Regions from separate parts of the Homo sapiens genome. Here all the other regions are linked to region 4. The links are contacts of gene promoters, found by promoter capture Hi-C in blood cells and fetal thymus (Javierre and others, 2016). All regions are on one chromosome and are shown on one strand. Each heading gives the region's core, a stretch centred on a gene start or on the middle of the fragment in contact. The rest is flanking DNA. Distances are from core to core; before and after follow the strand shown. Region 1 overlaps MAST2 (microtubule associated serine/threonine kinase 2). Region 2 overlaps MAST2 (microtubule associated serine/threonine kinase 2). Region 3 overlaps MAST2 (microtubule associated serine/threonine kinase 2). Region 4 holds the start of CCDC17 (coiled-coil domain containing 17).

Region 1 (3,719 bases), core at 1,095-3,594, 230 kb before region 4:
AGGATCACCTGAGACTGGGAGATGGAGGCTGCAGTGAGCCATGACTGCAAAACCACACTCCAGCCTGGGGGACAGAGTGAGACCCTGTATCAAAAGGAAATATAAATATAAATATAATTCACATAGAGAAGAACACATTAGTGGTTGCAAGAAGATAAAGACGGGGTGGGAGTGCAAATATAAAAGGGCAGCCCAAGCGAATTCCTTTGTAATGACAGTACGGTTCTGTATGTTGATTGTGGTGGTGGCCATTACACAAATCTATTCATGGGATGAGATTGCATGACTTGTACATACACACACAAACATATACAAGTGTATATAAAGACCAAATAAGGGCTATAATCTAGTTAATGATATTGTACAAATGTCATTTTCATGGTTTTAATATTGTATTATAGCTATATAAGATGACACTATTGGTGAAAGCTGGGTGAAGGGTTCATAGTACTCTGCACTATTTTTGCAACTTCCTATGCAACCATAAGTATTTTTTTAAAGGCTAAATAACTGAAAAAAAAGGAAATTCCTATATTTTCATTTTAGTATCTCCCTATAAATGCATGTTACTTTATTCCCAAAATGCCCCAACACATCTCAGAAACGTTTCTGTTTGGAGCTTTTTGCCCTCTTTAAAAAATAGTCCATTAATTCTATTTGCCAGCAGCAATCTCAGTCCCTCAGCTCAGGTAATTCATTTCAAGTAGGGCTGAAAATTTTTTCTATTAGGTCAAGCAGAAAAAAGGAAGTCAGATGAATAGATGTAGAAAAAGCTTTCAATAAAATCCACCATCCCTTCATGATAAAAACCCTCAACAAACTAGGCATCCAAGGAACATATCTCAAAATAAATAAAAGCCACCTATGACAAATCCACAGCCAACATCATGCTGAATGAGAAAAACTGGAAACATTCCTCTTGAGAACTGGAACAAGACAAGGATGTCTACTCTCCTGACTGCTGGTCAACAGAGCACTGGAAGTTCTAGCCACAGCAATCACACAAAGGAAAGAAAGAAAAGGCATCCAAACAGCAAAGAAGTCCAGCTATCTTTCTTTGCAGACAATATGATTTTATACCTGGAAAACCCTAAAGACTCCGCCAAAGGCTCCTGGAACTGATAAATGGCTTCCCAGTTTTAAGATACAAAAGCAATGTACAAAAATCAGTAGCAATTCTATATACCAGTAACATTCAAGCTGAGAGCCAAGTAAAGAATGCAGTCCCATTTACAATAGCTACAAAAAAAAGAAAAAGAAAAAGTACCTAAGAATACATCTAACCAAGGAGGTAAAAGATCTCAACAAGGAGAACTACAAACACTGCTAAAAGAAATCACAGGTGACACAAACAAAAGGAAAAAAATTTCATGCTCATGGATTAGAAGAATCAATACTGTTGAAACAGCCATACTGTCCAAATCAATCTACAGATTCAGCATAATTCTTATCAAACTACCAATGTCATTTTTCACAGAACTAGAAAGAACTATTCTAAAATTTACATGAAACCAAAAAAGAGCTCAAATAGCCAAAACAATCCTAAGCAAAAAGAACAAAGCTGCAGGGATTACATTACCCAGCTTCAGACTATACTATAAGGCTACAGTGTTTAAAAAAAAAAAAAAAAAAAAGCATAGTACTGGTACAAAAGCAGACACATAGACCTATAGAACAGAATAGAGAACCCAGAAATAAAGCCACACACCTACAATCTTCTGATCTTTAGCAAAGTCAACAAAAATAAGCAATGGGGAGAGGACTCTATTCAATAAATAGTGCTGGGATAGCTGGCTAGGCACATGCAGAAGAATGAAACTGGAACCCTACCTTTCACCACATACAAAAATTAACTCAAGATGGATTAAAGATTTAAATGTAAGACCTCAAACTGTAAGAATCCTAGGGAAAAAACAAACAAACAAACTAGGAAACACCATTCCAGACACTGACCTTGGGAAACAATTTATGACTGAGTCCTCAAAAGCAATTGCAACAAAAACAAAAATTGTCAAGTGGGACCTAATTAGACTAAAGAGTTTCTGCACAGCAAAAGAAACAATCAGTAGAGTTAACAGCCTACAGAATGGGAGAAAATATTTGCAAACTATGCATCTGACAAAGGTCTAATATCTAGACTCTATAAAGAACTTAAACAATTAAACAAGCAAAAAACAACCCCATCACAAAATGGGCAAAAGACATGAACAGACACTTCTCAAAAGAAGATATACAGGCAGCCAACAAACATGAAAACATGCTCCACATACTAACCATTTGAGAAATGCACATCAAAACCACAATGAGATACCATCTTATGCCAGTCAGAATAGCTATTATCAAAAAGCAAAAAAACAACAGATGCCGGCAAGACTGCAGATAAAAGGGAACACGTATACACTGTTGGTAGGAATGTAAATTAGTTTAGCACTCTGGAAAGTAGTTGGGAGACTTCTCAAAGAGCCTAAAACTGAACTACCATTCAACCCAGCAATCCTATTACTGGGTAAATATACAAAAGAAAACAAATCATTCTACCAAAAAGACACATGTACTCACATGTTAATCACAGCACTATTCACAATAGTAAAGACATGGGATCAACCTAGGTGCCCATCAACAGTGGACTAGATAAAGAAAATATGGGCGGGGCACAGTGGCTCACGCCTGTAATCCCAGCACTTTGGGAGGCTGAGGCAGGCAGATCACGACGTCAGGAGATCCAGACCATCCTGGCTAATATGGTGAAACCCCATCTCTACTAAAAATACAAAAAATTAGCTGGGTGTGGTGGCGGGCGCCTGTAGTCCCAGCTACTCCAGAGGCTGAGGCAGGAGAATGGTGTGAACCTGGGAGGTGGAGCTTGCAGTGAGCCTAGATCGCGCCACTGCACTCCAGCCTGGGTGACAGAGAGAGACTCCATCTCAAAAAAAAAAAAAAGAAAAGAGGGGGTCCAGCTTTAATCTTCTGCATATGGCTAGCCAGTTATCCCAGTATCATTACTTGTTTTTGTCAGTTTTGTCACAGATCACATGGTCATAGGTGTGCAGCTTTATTTCTGCCGGAAATAAAGTTCCATTGATCTATGTGCCTTTTGTACCAGTAACATGCTGTTTTGGTTACTGTATCCCTATAGTACAGTTTGAAGTTGGGTAACGTGAGGCCCCCAGTTTTGTTCTCTTTGCTTAGGACTGCCTTGGCTATTCAAGCTCTTTTTTGGTTCCATACGAATTTTAAAATCGTTTTTTCTAGTTCTGTGAAGAATGTTCTTGGTAGTTTGATAGGAATAGCATTGAATCTGTAAACTGCTTTAGGCAGTATGGTCATTTTAATGATATTGAGTCTTCCTATCCATGAGCATGGTGTGTTTTTTCATTTGTTTTTGTCTTCTCTGATTTCCTTGAGCAGTGTCTTCTAATTCTCATTGTAGAAATCTTGCACCTCCCTGGTTAGCAGTATTCCTAGGTATTGTATTCTTTTTGTGGTAATTGTGAATGGGATTGCCTTCCTGATTTGGCTCCCAGCTGGGCTGTTGTTGGTGGATAGGAATGCTAGTGGTTTTTTGTATGTTAATTTGGTGTCCTGAAACTTTGCTGAATTTGTTTATCAGTTGAAGGAGCTTTTGGGCCAAGATGATGGGGTTTTCTACACATACAATCATGTCATCTACAAACAGGGATAATCTGACTTCTCTCTTCCTACTTGAATGCCGTTTATTT
Region 2 (3,419 bases), core at 612-3,111, 190 kb before region 4:
TTCATTTCGATAAACTTTCTACCCCTATCTCTCTACCTCCTCTTTAAGGCCAAAACGCTTAGATTTGCCTTTTGGAGGCTATTTTCTAGATCTTGTAGGCATGCTTTTTATTCCTTTTTATCTTTTTCTTCTTTTGTCTCCTCTGGCTGTGTATTTTCAAATAGCCTGTCTTCGAGCTCACTAATTCTTTCTTCTGGGGCCAGGCACTGTGGCTCACGCCTGTAATCCCAACACTTTGGGAAGCCGAGGCAGGTGGATCACGAGGTCAGGAGATCGAGACCATCCTGGTTGACACGGTGAAACCCCGTCTCTACTAAAAAACAAAAAAATTAGCCAGGTGTGGTGGCACACACCTGTAATCCCAGCTACTTGGGAGGCTGAGCCAGGAGAATCGCTTGAACCTGGGAGGCAGAGGTTGCAGGGAGCCATTACGCCACTGCACTACAGCCTGGGCAACAGAGCGAGACTCCATCTCAAAAAATAAATAAATAAATAAATTCTTTCTTCTGCTTAATCAGTTCTGCTATTAAAGGACTCTGATGCATTCCTTAGTATATCAACTGCATTTTTCAACTCCAAAATTTCAGCTTGGTTCTTTTTAATTATTTCCATTTCTTTGCTGAAGTTACCTTAGGGGATTCTGATTTCCTTATCTGTGTTATCCTGTATTTCTCTGAATTTCCTCAAAATGGGTATTTTGAATTCTCTGTCTGAAAGGTCATGTATCTCTATCTCTCCAGGATTGGTCCCTGGTGCCTTACGTAGTTTGTTTGGTGATGTCATGTTTTCCTGAATGGTCTTAACGCTTGTGGGTATTTGTCAGTGTCTGGGCATTGAAGAGTTAAATATACATTGTAGCCTTTGCGATCTGGGCTTGTTTGCATCTGTTATTCTTGGGAAGACTTTCCAGGTATTTGAAGGGACTTGGGTCTCTCTCTCTCTCTCTCTCTCTTTCTCTCTCTCTCTCCCCCCCACCCCCAATACCAAGCTGCCTTTCTTGGGGTTGCCAGAGACTACCTCTGCCACAGGCTGCAGAAAAGCTTTTCCAGATCTCCTATCTGTGCTTGGGAAAAAGGCCTTTACTTGCATTCAAAATTGTTATAACTCAAAACTCTGTGTGTCTACAAGGAAAAAGAGGAGGCTATGGTTCCAGGCTGTCTATAACCAAAATAAATGGATTTCTGTATGGTTCTAAGCTAAGGACTACATTGGGGTTTGAGTCCTGTGGCAGGGACTAGTTAGATGTTGATCAAGCATGATTCACCTTCCTCCTAGGCACAGGCCACATGACATTTCCCAGCCCTCCAGTAGTTAGGCATGGCCCTGAAACTGAGTTCTGGCAATGGAATATGAGTGGAAGTGATTAATCCATTTCTAGGATTGGCCCATCCTCCACTTTCCTCAGCTGAACTTGGAAGCCATGTGTAGAAAATGGAAGCACCTCAATCAAGGGGTCCTTGTGAATCAGTTACAGCAAGTAATGTTCTTTAATATAAAAGACCAAAGACTGAGCTAGTCACAAAGTATCACTTTCTCTTACTGGTTAAAGGTAGAACTTAAATGTTCCTGGGTCATTTAAACAAAAATCACCTTGGTAACACCCCTATGAAATAACTTAAGGACTTTAAAAAAAAACTATTAACAACTATTTCTAAATCCTCTGCTTTTCAAAACATTCCTGAAAGCCTAACAGATAGAAAGTCTGACCAGTCACGGTGGCTCACACCTGTAATCCCAGCACTTAGGGAGGCTGAGGAGGGTGGATCACCTGAGGTCAGGAGTTCAAGACTAGCCTGCCCAACATGGTGAAACCCCATCTCTACTAAAAACATAAAAATTAGCTGGGTGTGATGGCATGTGCCTGTAGTCCTAGCTACTCAGGAGGCTGAGACAGGAGAATCACTTGAACCTGGGAGGCAGAGGTTGCAGTGAACCGAGATCACGCCATTGCACTCCAGACTGGGAGACAGTTTCAAAAAAAAAAAAAAAGAAGATCTGACAAAACTATATTACTTCTGCTTTGCTGAAATAACGGCAAAGAAACGATGTAGCTTATTAATCTCCAACAAATTAATGGTTAAAGGATATATGCATCTACTACTCAGGTTCACTCTTAAGGAACCTACACTCAAGCTGGTACAACTAAGATGGTATCACCTAATTTTAACACATGGTTCCCTTGGGCTGAATTTTTCTTAATTACATTCTAAAACCTAGGGAGACTATTCTATCTTCTAAGCCAGTTACTTAATAAAAAAATCCATAAAAGTTTCCCTGAAGGGGAAAATGCACAAATTAAAGTCTCCTTTCAAGCTGAATAAAATAAAAGAACAGTTTAATAACACCAACAAATCAAAGGTCAAGATAGCTTTTTCTTTTTATTTTTGAGATAGAGTTTCGCTCTTGTCGCCCAGGCTGGAGTGCAATGGCGTGATCTTGGCTCACTGCAACCTCCAACTCCCGGGTTCAAGCAATTCTCCTGCCTCAGCCTCCCAAGTAGCTGGAACTATAGGCGTGCGCCACCACGCTGGGCTAATTTTTGTATTTTTAGTAGTGACGGGGTTTTGCCATGTTTGCCAGGCTGGTCTCAAACTCCTGACCTCAGGTGATACACCCGCCTTGGTGTATGTGTTTACATTATACAAAATATTTTCTTTCATTATCCTTATTATATAAGCTTTCTTCTATTAAAAAAATTTTCTTTTTTTACTTTTTAAACTGTTTTGTTAGAAAGTAAGATACAAACATACGCACTAGCCTAGGCCTACACAGGGTCGAGATCATCAATATCACTGTCTTCCACCTCCACATCTTGTTCCATGGGAAGGTATTCAGGGGCAATAATGGAGCAATAATGGAGGTGACATGGAGCTGTCATCTCCTATGGTAACAATGCCTTCCCTGGAATTACACTGAAGGACTTGTCTGAGGCTGTTTTACAGTTAACTTTTTTTTTTAATAAGTAGGGGTACACTCTAAAATAACAGTAGAAAGTATAGTATGGTAAATACATAAGCAAGTAACATAGTTGTATATTATCATCATTAGGTATTATGTGCTGTGCATGCACTAACTCTATGTGCTGTACCTTTATACCACAGCAGTGCAGTAGGTTTTACACAGGCATTACCATGAACATGTAATGTGTTGCACTACAATGTTGTAATAGCTAGATGTCACTAGGCAATAGAAATTTTTCAACTCTGTTATAATCTTATGGGAAGCCAGGCATAATAGTTCATGCTTATAATCCCAACATTTTGGAAGGCCAAGGCAGAAGGATTGCTTGAGGCCAAGAGCTCAAGACCAGCCTGGGCAACATAGCAAGACTTCATCTCTATTTAAAAAAAAATTTTAATAAAAAAATTATAATCTGGCCAGGCGCAGTGGTTCATGCCTATAATCCCAGTACTTTGGGA
Region 3 (3,714 bases), core at 1,004-3,503, 240 kb before region 4:
TACTCTCGTTTTTGAACAGCAAAGGCAAAAAGCAAGCAGGGGGTTGGGGGGGGTGCATAAAAATACTATACAATTTAGTTTTTGCCTGAAGGCAATAATTTTATCAGCACAACAAATATTTTCAATTCAGAACCTGGGAAATTGCACTGTCTATACAATGAAGACAGATTACTATATGTGCCTTATGGGCAAATAATGTGGAAATTATGGCACTAAGAGAGTTGATAACAAAAATTTGCTTATGGTGGCTAGTCCCTGACCTTTCAAAGTTAAAATCATCCCCCATAAAGTTGATTGGGAAACAGGGCAAGTATAAAAGCACCTCCTTCAATTCACAAGGAACTTCAATCTCAAATGTCTCTCCATGTGTAGATGCTTCAAAAGTAGATGTAAGATGAAAGCCAATTTTTACCACAAAAAAGACCCAACTTGAACAGCTTTTCAAGCAAAACAGTGTCAATTCCTACACCGACAGAGGCTCCTCCAGTGTAAAGAAAAGATGCTCACACATAATCTCCCAGATGTCCTTTTACCATTAAGATGTAGGGATGTTGTAGTGTGTGACTGTGCAGACTGAAACTGCTACAGTTCTTTTTCTAACACATAGGAAGCAAGCTTGAGAATGAGGCCAAAACACAGAGGAAGGCAAAAGAGCAATGAAGCTGAGCAAATACACCAGACTACCCAACTCTGAAACCCATCCAACCTCTGGACTTCATTGTTGTGAGTCAATACATTTACCTAACATTTAAACCACTCAGAGTCAAAATTTCTGTTACTTGTAGTTCAGAGTACCCTAACCTATACATCTAGCCTGGCCATACACCTACTTGTCTGTCCTTGAGGAAGCTACTGAGCTTCACGTATCTGTAAAAATGGCCAATAAGAAAGTCCTCCACATCGTCCACTGCTATCACCCCTCCAATCTGTTATTATTTCTTGCTTTTTTTGACCACAACAGTCTCATAATTGGTCTTTTTGCTGCAGCCCTTGCCTCCACTGTCTACTCTCAATATACCAGTGGAGTACAGAAATGAAATGAAATTTGGCTGTGGTTATATGACTAGAACATGGCAGAACTGTAATTTGAACAAAATAGACAAGGTCTTTGCTGTCACGGAACTTCTAAATGCCCTATTTACTATTCTGCTACCTCCCCAAGAAACTCTGCGGAAAAACCTGGAGGTATCAAAGTAGGCTGTGTCTTAGCTGATCTTCTGGAAAAGTTTTAGGAAATCTATTTCACCAGAAAGCAATTAGCGAAGCCAAATATTTATTTGGATTTTCACCTTCAAATCTGAGGTTACCCAGTAGATTACCTGTACCACCAGGCACACTTTACCTTTGTGTGTTTATTTATATAAATCTATTAATAAAACTTACCTTTAAATCTTTATATTATAATGTAACTATTTAAAACAAATAATCTAAACTGCTGCTTTTCAAGCGTTAGCTCTGTTTTGGAATGTTCCAAAGCAATCTTCTGGAGAATGAACCTTAAAGTTTATTTTTTAAAAATAGGCAAAATAGGCTGGGTGCGGTGGCTCACATCTGCAATCCCAGCAATTGGGAGGCCGAGGCGGGTGGATCACCTGAGGTCAGGAGTTTGAGACCCGGCTGGCCAACATGGTGAAACACCGTCTCTACTAAAAATACAAAAAATTAGCCAGGTGTGGTGGCACATGCCTGTAATGCCCCAGCTACTCGACTCCGGAGGCAGAGGCAGGAGAATCACTTGAACCTGGGAGGCAGAGGTTGCAATGAGCCAAGATCACGCCACTGCACCTCCAGCCTGGGTGACAGAGTGAGACTCCATCTCAAAAAAAAAAAAGTAGACAAAATAAATAGGGGAAAAATTTTTTATAAGTATAAGGCTGTAGGAAAAGATCTTCCAGTGCTATGTAATCTGGCAGTTTAGAACTCCTGCTAGATAGAAACAAAGACTCGAGAGGAAGGGCATCAGTAAACAAGGTAGCAAATACTAGAGACTGACTCAGGCATCAGGGAGAAAATGAATGATTTAACACAAAACAGAAAATATTTCCCATTCAACAAATAGGATTCCCTTTCTGAATCCTAGCAACTAAAGAGAAATAAAGATATAAATAAGCAGTGCAACTAAATGGGCTTACAGAGCCAGCCATTTTTAATTAGCAGCTGCTTGAACATACATCACTACTTATGAGAGGTCATCTGAGTACAGTACTAAATAAATACTACTCAAAATAACCCCAAGAAATCAAGGGACAAATCTCATCGAATCAACTGTGCTAACAGGAGAAATTAGTATAAGGCGCTGGAGTTTATGTTATTGACTTTTAAAGCCCAGGTCATACTGGTCAACTGCTAAAGATTCAGTGGGTTCTCCCTACGGGCTCTGAATGTTTACAGCACCATCAATAAGAAGTACATATAATAACTAGAAACAATACAATTTGTTTAAATTTATATTTTAAGTTTACTAATCCTATACATTTTCTACCTGAGAACTTTAAAGAAACTAAAATAATGTTAATTCATGATAATTTTAAAATCCTTAGGTATTTTGTACAAAAAAAGTGCTTTATAAATAATGTCAAATAAACAAAATGAAAACAACAGAAATAGCTACATTTCATGACTAAACCATCACAGGTTGATTGATTAGCTCAGTGATTTACACTAGAATCTTCATTATGTCAATTCTCAAAAACATTTAGTGATAGACTAGAAGCTGGCTTGCTCTTTGCTAACAAGACTAAGATGAGATAATCTACAAAGCATGAAAAAAATAATCATCAAATTTGGCATGTATTCTTTTAGTGCTAAGGATATTCATTAAAACTCAGTTGAAGGTTGCCTATCAGTCTATTTTCATTCACTGTTATATCTTACATACCTCTTCATCTAACAAACTACCTATGATTTAAGAAGGAAAAGATGGTAGGTAGGTAGGTAGGTAGACAGACAGACGGATGGATGGACAGACAACACAGACAGACAATAGATAAGTGGATGGAATGTGTATATGCCAAGTGATAATTTAGAAAAGTTCTTAAAACTATGCATAGAATCAAGCATATACTACCATACATGTGACTTAATGGTGGGCAGATCAGGCATGGTGGTCAGGAACAGAATATGTTCACCGTAAACAATCTGTCAGCAGTAATGTCTAATGTTCTAAATTAGGCTTGTATCCCATACAGGTCTGATTTAGTTGCTCTACTCACTAAATACAGTGTAAATAAGCCCAAGCAGCATTTTTCTATCAAAATAGCAAGATTTTAGATAAGTTCTCTAATTATAACTATACATCAAAGAATAAAGAGGAACTTAGCTGCACTCCACTCTGCCTCCTACCTCAAATGAATTAAATACATTATAACAATCTGTTCAGTACATTTACAAGAGACATTAAAAGGAAGGAGATCAGTGAAAAAGGTTTTCTTTTACTCACCTGTAACCCTCTCCTTCTCAGAATACTGGAATCATCCATAATAGATATCAGACAAAAAAAAGCCACTCCCCAGACAGTCAACTACTAGTGCCTACTTACTGCTGGATAAAGAGGCAAACAATCCTTTCAGCACACCACTAACCCACTGTTCCACTAAACCAGTTATCCCTCTGTCCAGCGTAAGTATACAATCACTGCCTCATATCAGAATCACGTCTTTCTTCACAGAAGTATAGATACATCTCATCTGAAGCACTGCCAAATAGCGGAAAGAC
Region 4 (3,221 bases), core at 76-2,575:
TAAAAATACAAAAAAAATTAGCCGGGCACAGTGGTGGGCACCTGTAGTCTCAGCTACTCGGGAGGCTGAGGCAGGAGAATGGCTTGAACCCGGAAGGCGGAGCTTGCAGTGAGCCCAGATAGTGCCACTGCACTTCGGCCTGGGCGAAAGAGCGAGACTCCGTCTAAAAAAAAAAAAAAAAAAAAGCCGGGTGTGGTGGCAGGTGCCTGTAGTCCCAGCTACTGGGGAGGCTGAGGCAGGAGAATGGTGTCAACCTGGGAGGCAGAGCTTGCAGTGAGCCGAGATCGTGCCATTGCACTGTAGCCTGGGCAACAGAGCGAGACTGTCTCAAAAAAAGAAGAGAAAAGGGTGTTTCTTGGCCGGGCGCAGTGCCTTACGCCTGTAATCCCAGCACTTTGGGAGGCCAAGGCGGGCAGATCACGAGGTCAGGAGATCAAGACCATCCTGGCTAACATGGTGAAACCCCGTCTCTACTAAAAAATACAAAAAATGAGCCAAGCGTGGTGGTGGGCACCTGTAGTCTCAGCTACTTGGGAGGCTGAGGCAGGAGAATGGCGTGAACCCAGGAGGCAGAGCTCATTGCAGTGAGCTGAGATCGCGCCACTGCACTTCGGCCTGGGCGACAGCGAGACTCCATCTCAAAAAGAAAAAAAAAAAAGTAAAGAGGGTTTCTTAAGAAATATGCGGTCACCTCAGAGCTCCTCCATATATTTTGGGAGTGGGAGTGGAGTGAAGAATTTCACCAACAGTTCAGGGTCTTTCTGGCTTCTGGCCAATCTTGGGAGAGAGAAGGGGTTTTTTTCTGGACTTGATTCCCTCATCTGATAGATTCATTCTGTTCGCCCACAGCTTTCATTTCTTGGGCTGTGCTGATTATCTTCGTCTACAGCTGAAAAATGAGGAATCAGGGAATGGGAGTTAGGGAGACTGCTATCCCTGGTGCGACATGGTTTCCAGGCAGAATGCTGGAAAGGTCAGAGTGCCTCCTTTGCCAGGTAGTTCTCTGGATTGGAGAATGGTACAAACTGTTACATCCACTTGGGAGTACAGCAATGAAAAAGATGACACTTGCCTTTTAGAGGCTATTAAATGACCAATGATGTAGTAAGTGATAAGGGCCCAGCCTAGTCTAGGAGGCAGCTGCTTTTTCCTCTTTATTAATAGTCAGGGAAACCAAGCTACAATTAGAGACTTGCCCACGTTCAGACTTTGTAACACTTTTTCAAGCCAGTGGCTCCTCCCAAACGGCCGAGGTTTCCCCACCCATTCTCCTGACCTGCCCAGCCCTGTGGTTGCTGTCCAGGGAGCTAAGGCTCTCCCCAAACAAACTTGAAGATCTCACAGACCTAATAGACACGGCCTTTCCTCTCTGCCTCTGGCTTTATGTCTCTTTCATCCTCCTCTGCCTTTCCCCTGCCCTTGATCCCTTCTGCAGGTCTTGGCTGGTTTCAGGAAACGGGTCCCATCCCATGGACTCCCACTCTGGGGAGCCTGCGCTCCTGCCCTGTGGGACCTGTGACATGGTTTTCCGCTCCTCAGCTCTGTTAGCCACCCATACTCAGCGCTTCTGCATTGGCCACCCGACCCAAGAGATGACATTTGGAGCACAGGCATCAGTTGCCACTGAACCCCAGCGGGCCGCGGTAAGGGCCTCCATGGCCATGGGTGGGGATTCAAAGGAGCCAGGACCTTTATGATTCCTCATCCTACTACACCCTATCCCCAGGTTGTGCCACAAGAACACCAGGGCGTGCCACAAGAACCCCAGGGCCTCCCAGACCAGCAGGCCAGTAGATCTGCTCTAAAGAGGTTAACAGAGGAGGTAGAGCTACCTACCTTCCCCCAGGGCTCAAAACGTTGAGCGTCTTCCCCAAACCTGTAGATCATACTTGGGACAGATTCTGCCCACGCAGAGATCGCGGATCGCTGTTACCTCCAGGTGCAGTGGCTGCGGCTATCCCTACAGGAAATGCGGCCCTGGATAACAGAGGTCCCCAGGGTGTTCGCGGGGCCCTGGACACGTTCCGAGGCGCGGCCTCAGAGTCCCATGTCCGAGGCGGTGGGAAGCCCCAGCGAGCGGCTGCGGGCGCTGTTCAGGACTCGCGCGAGGCGCGTGGCGGAGATGGAAGCGCAGAGCCGGGCCCTGCAGCTACGCGGCGAGGGTGAAGGAGATGGGGGACGGGGACCAAGGACCTCCTCTGCCCTCGCCGTTTGGCTTAAGCTTGCTCGGGCCGGTTCTGACTCGGCCCGCATTCCCTCAGAACTGAGCCGACGCCTCCAAGTTGTGGCCTGTACGCGGGGCGGGATGTCCCGCCTCTTCGGCCTGGAGCAGGAGATTCGAGAACTACAAGCTGAGGCCGGGAGGACGCGGGGAGCTCTAGAGGTGTTGGGGGCCCGCATTCAGGAGCTGCAGGCGGAGCCAGGGTGAGACCCGACTAAGCGGATCCCCGGAACATGCGGCTCCGGGGTGGGAGGGGCGGGCTGGCTGCAGCCCCGGGGCCTCTGATGCGTTACCGTCTCCCTGCGCGTCGCCTGCCACCCCAGGAACCCGCTGAGCTCCCGGCGAGAGGCAGAACTTTATTCTCCAGTGCAAAAGGCCAACCCGGGAACTCTGGCTGCCGAAATCCGGTGAGAGCCGGGGCCGGAGATGGGCATAGGGCGAAGCGCTGAGCAGTTCTGGAAAGACGGCCTTCCTGTTCCCCACTCCCTAGGGCGCTGCGGGAGGCCTACATTCGAGACGGGGGCCGGGACCCCGGCGTGCTGGGCCAGATATGGCAGTTGCAGGTGGAGGCGTCTGCACTGGAGCTGCAGCGGTCGCAGACCCGCAGAGGTGAACAGGAGGGCCTCTCGCCAGCGGTGGTCAGTCCTGGGAGGAGAAAAGAACTCGAGGGAGGGCCTGTGGCTGTGGATGGCATGTGAGCTGACAAGTCCAGCCTTATCCGAAGAGCCTTAGCGCTGGAGAGCTGCTCACAGCCGGACGCGGCCAGTCACCAGAGGTCAAAGGTGACAGGTCACACTTGTTCATCGCAGGAAGGGCAGGTGCCACCTCAGGGGAGCTTCCAGTAGTGGAGGCTGAAAACCGGCGCTTGGAGGCAGAAATCTTGGCCTTGCAAATGCAGAGGGGTCGGGCACCCTTGGGTCAGTGAGCACCCCAACCCTATCCCATCCCACTTATCTCTCCCCAGCAGGCCTGGCTCAGGCAGACAGTGCATGGGGAACAA

The links. Contacts are between HindIII fragments. The CHiCAGO score rates a contact against its expected background, and 5 or more counts as called.
Region 1: a contact is called between a fragment that was not itself captured here and the fragment with the promoter of CCDC17 in region 4, in 4 of 17 cell types (M0 macrophages, megakaryocytes, endothelial precursors and 1 more). The highest score is 6.9, in M0 macrophages.
Region 2: a fragment that was not itself captured here is called in contact with the fragment with the promoter of CCDC17 in region 4 in 1 of 17 cell types (M0 macrophages); the score reaches 5.1 in M0 macrophages.
Region 3: a contact is called between a fragment that was not itself captured here and the fragment with the promoter of CCDC17 in region 4, in 3 of 17 cell types (megakaryocytes, endothelial precursors and M2 macrophages). The highest score is 9.0, in megakaryocytes.

What each region holds. Positions count from the first base shown.
Region 1 is chr1:45,848,752-45,852,470 of GRCh38, reverse strand. The region is part of intron 3 of MAST2 (microtubule associated serine/threonine kinase 2); the gene reads right to left. Among named protein-coding and RNA genes, the nearest start is that of MAST2, 47 kb to the right of the region's middle. The HindIII fragment of the contact is 3,137 bases long and covers 776-3,719 here.
Region 2 is chr1:45,813,755-45,817,173 of GRCh38, reverse strand. The region is part of intron 1 of MAST2 (microtubule associated serine/threonine kinase 2); the gene reads right to left. Among named protein-coding and RNA genes, the nearest start is that of MAST2, 12 kb to the right of the region's middle. The HindIII fragment of the contact is 1,637 bases long and covers 1,043-2,679 here.
Region 3 is chr1:45,864,865-45,868,578 of GRCh38, reverse strand. The region is part of intron 3 of MAST2 (microtubule associated serine/threonine kinase 2); the gene reads right to left. It overlaps LOC105378694 (a long non-coding RNA gene), which reads left to right. Exons shown (of 5, transcript XR_001738038.2): 5 at 608-695. Among named protein-coding and RNA genes, the nearest start is that of MAST2, 63 kb to the right of the region's middle. RefSeq lists a silencer at 548-842. The HindIII fragment of the contact is 3,271 bases long and covers 618-3,714 here.
Region 4 is chr1:45,622,158-45,625,378 of GRCh38, reverse strand. CCDC17 (coiled-coil domain containing 17) reads left to right here and starts at 1,325. Exons shown (of 13, transcript NM_001114938.3): 1 at 1,325-1,643; 2 at 1,727-1,822; 3 at 1,940-2,162; 4 at 2,262-2,424; 5 at 2,545-2,628; 6 at 2,712-2,830; 7 at 3,031-3,138. The coding sequence starts at 1,470. The HindIII fragment of the contact is 6,664 bases long and covers 1-2,223 here.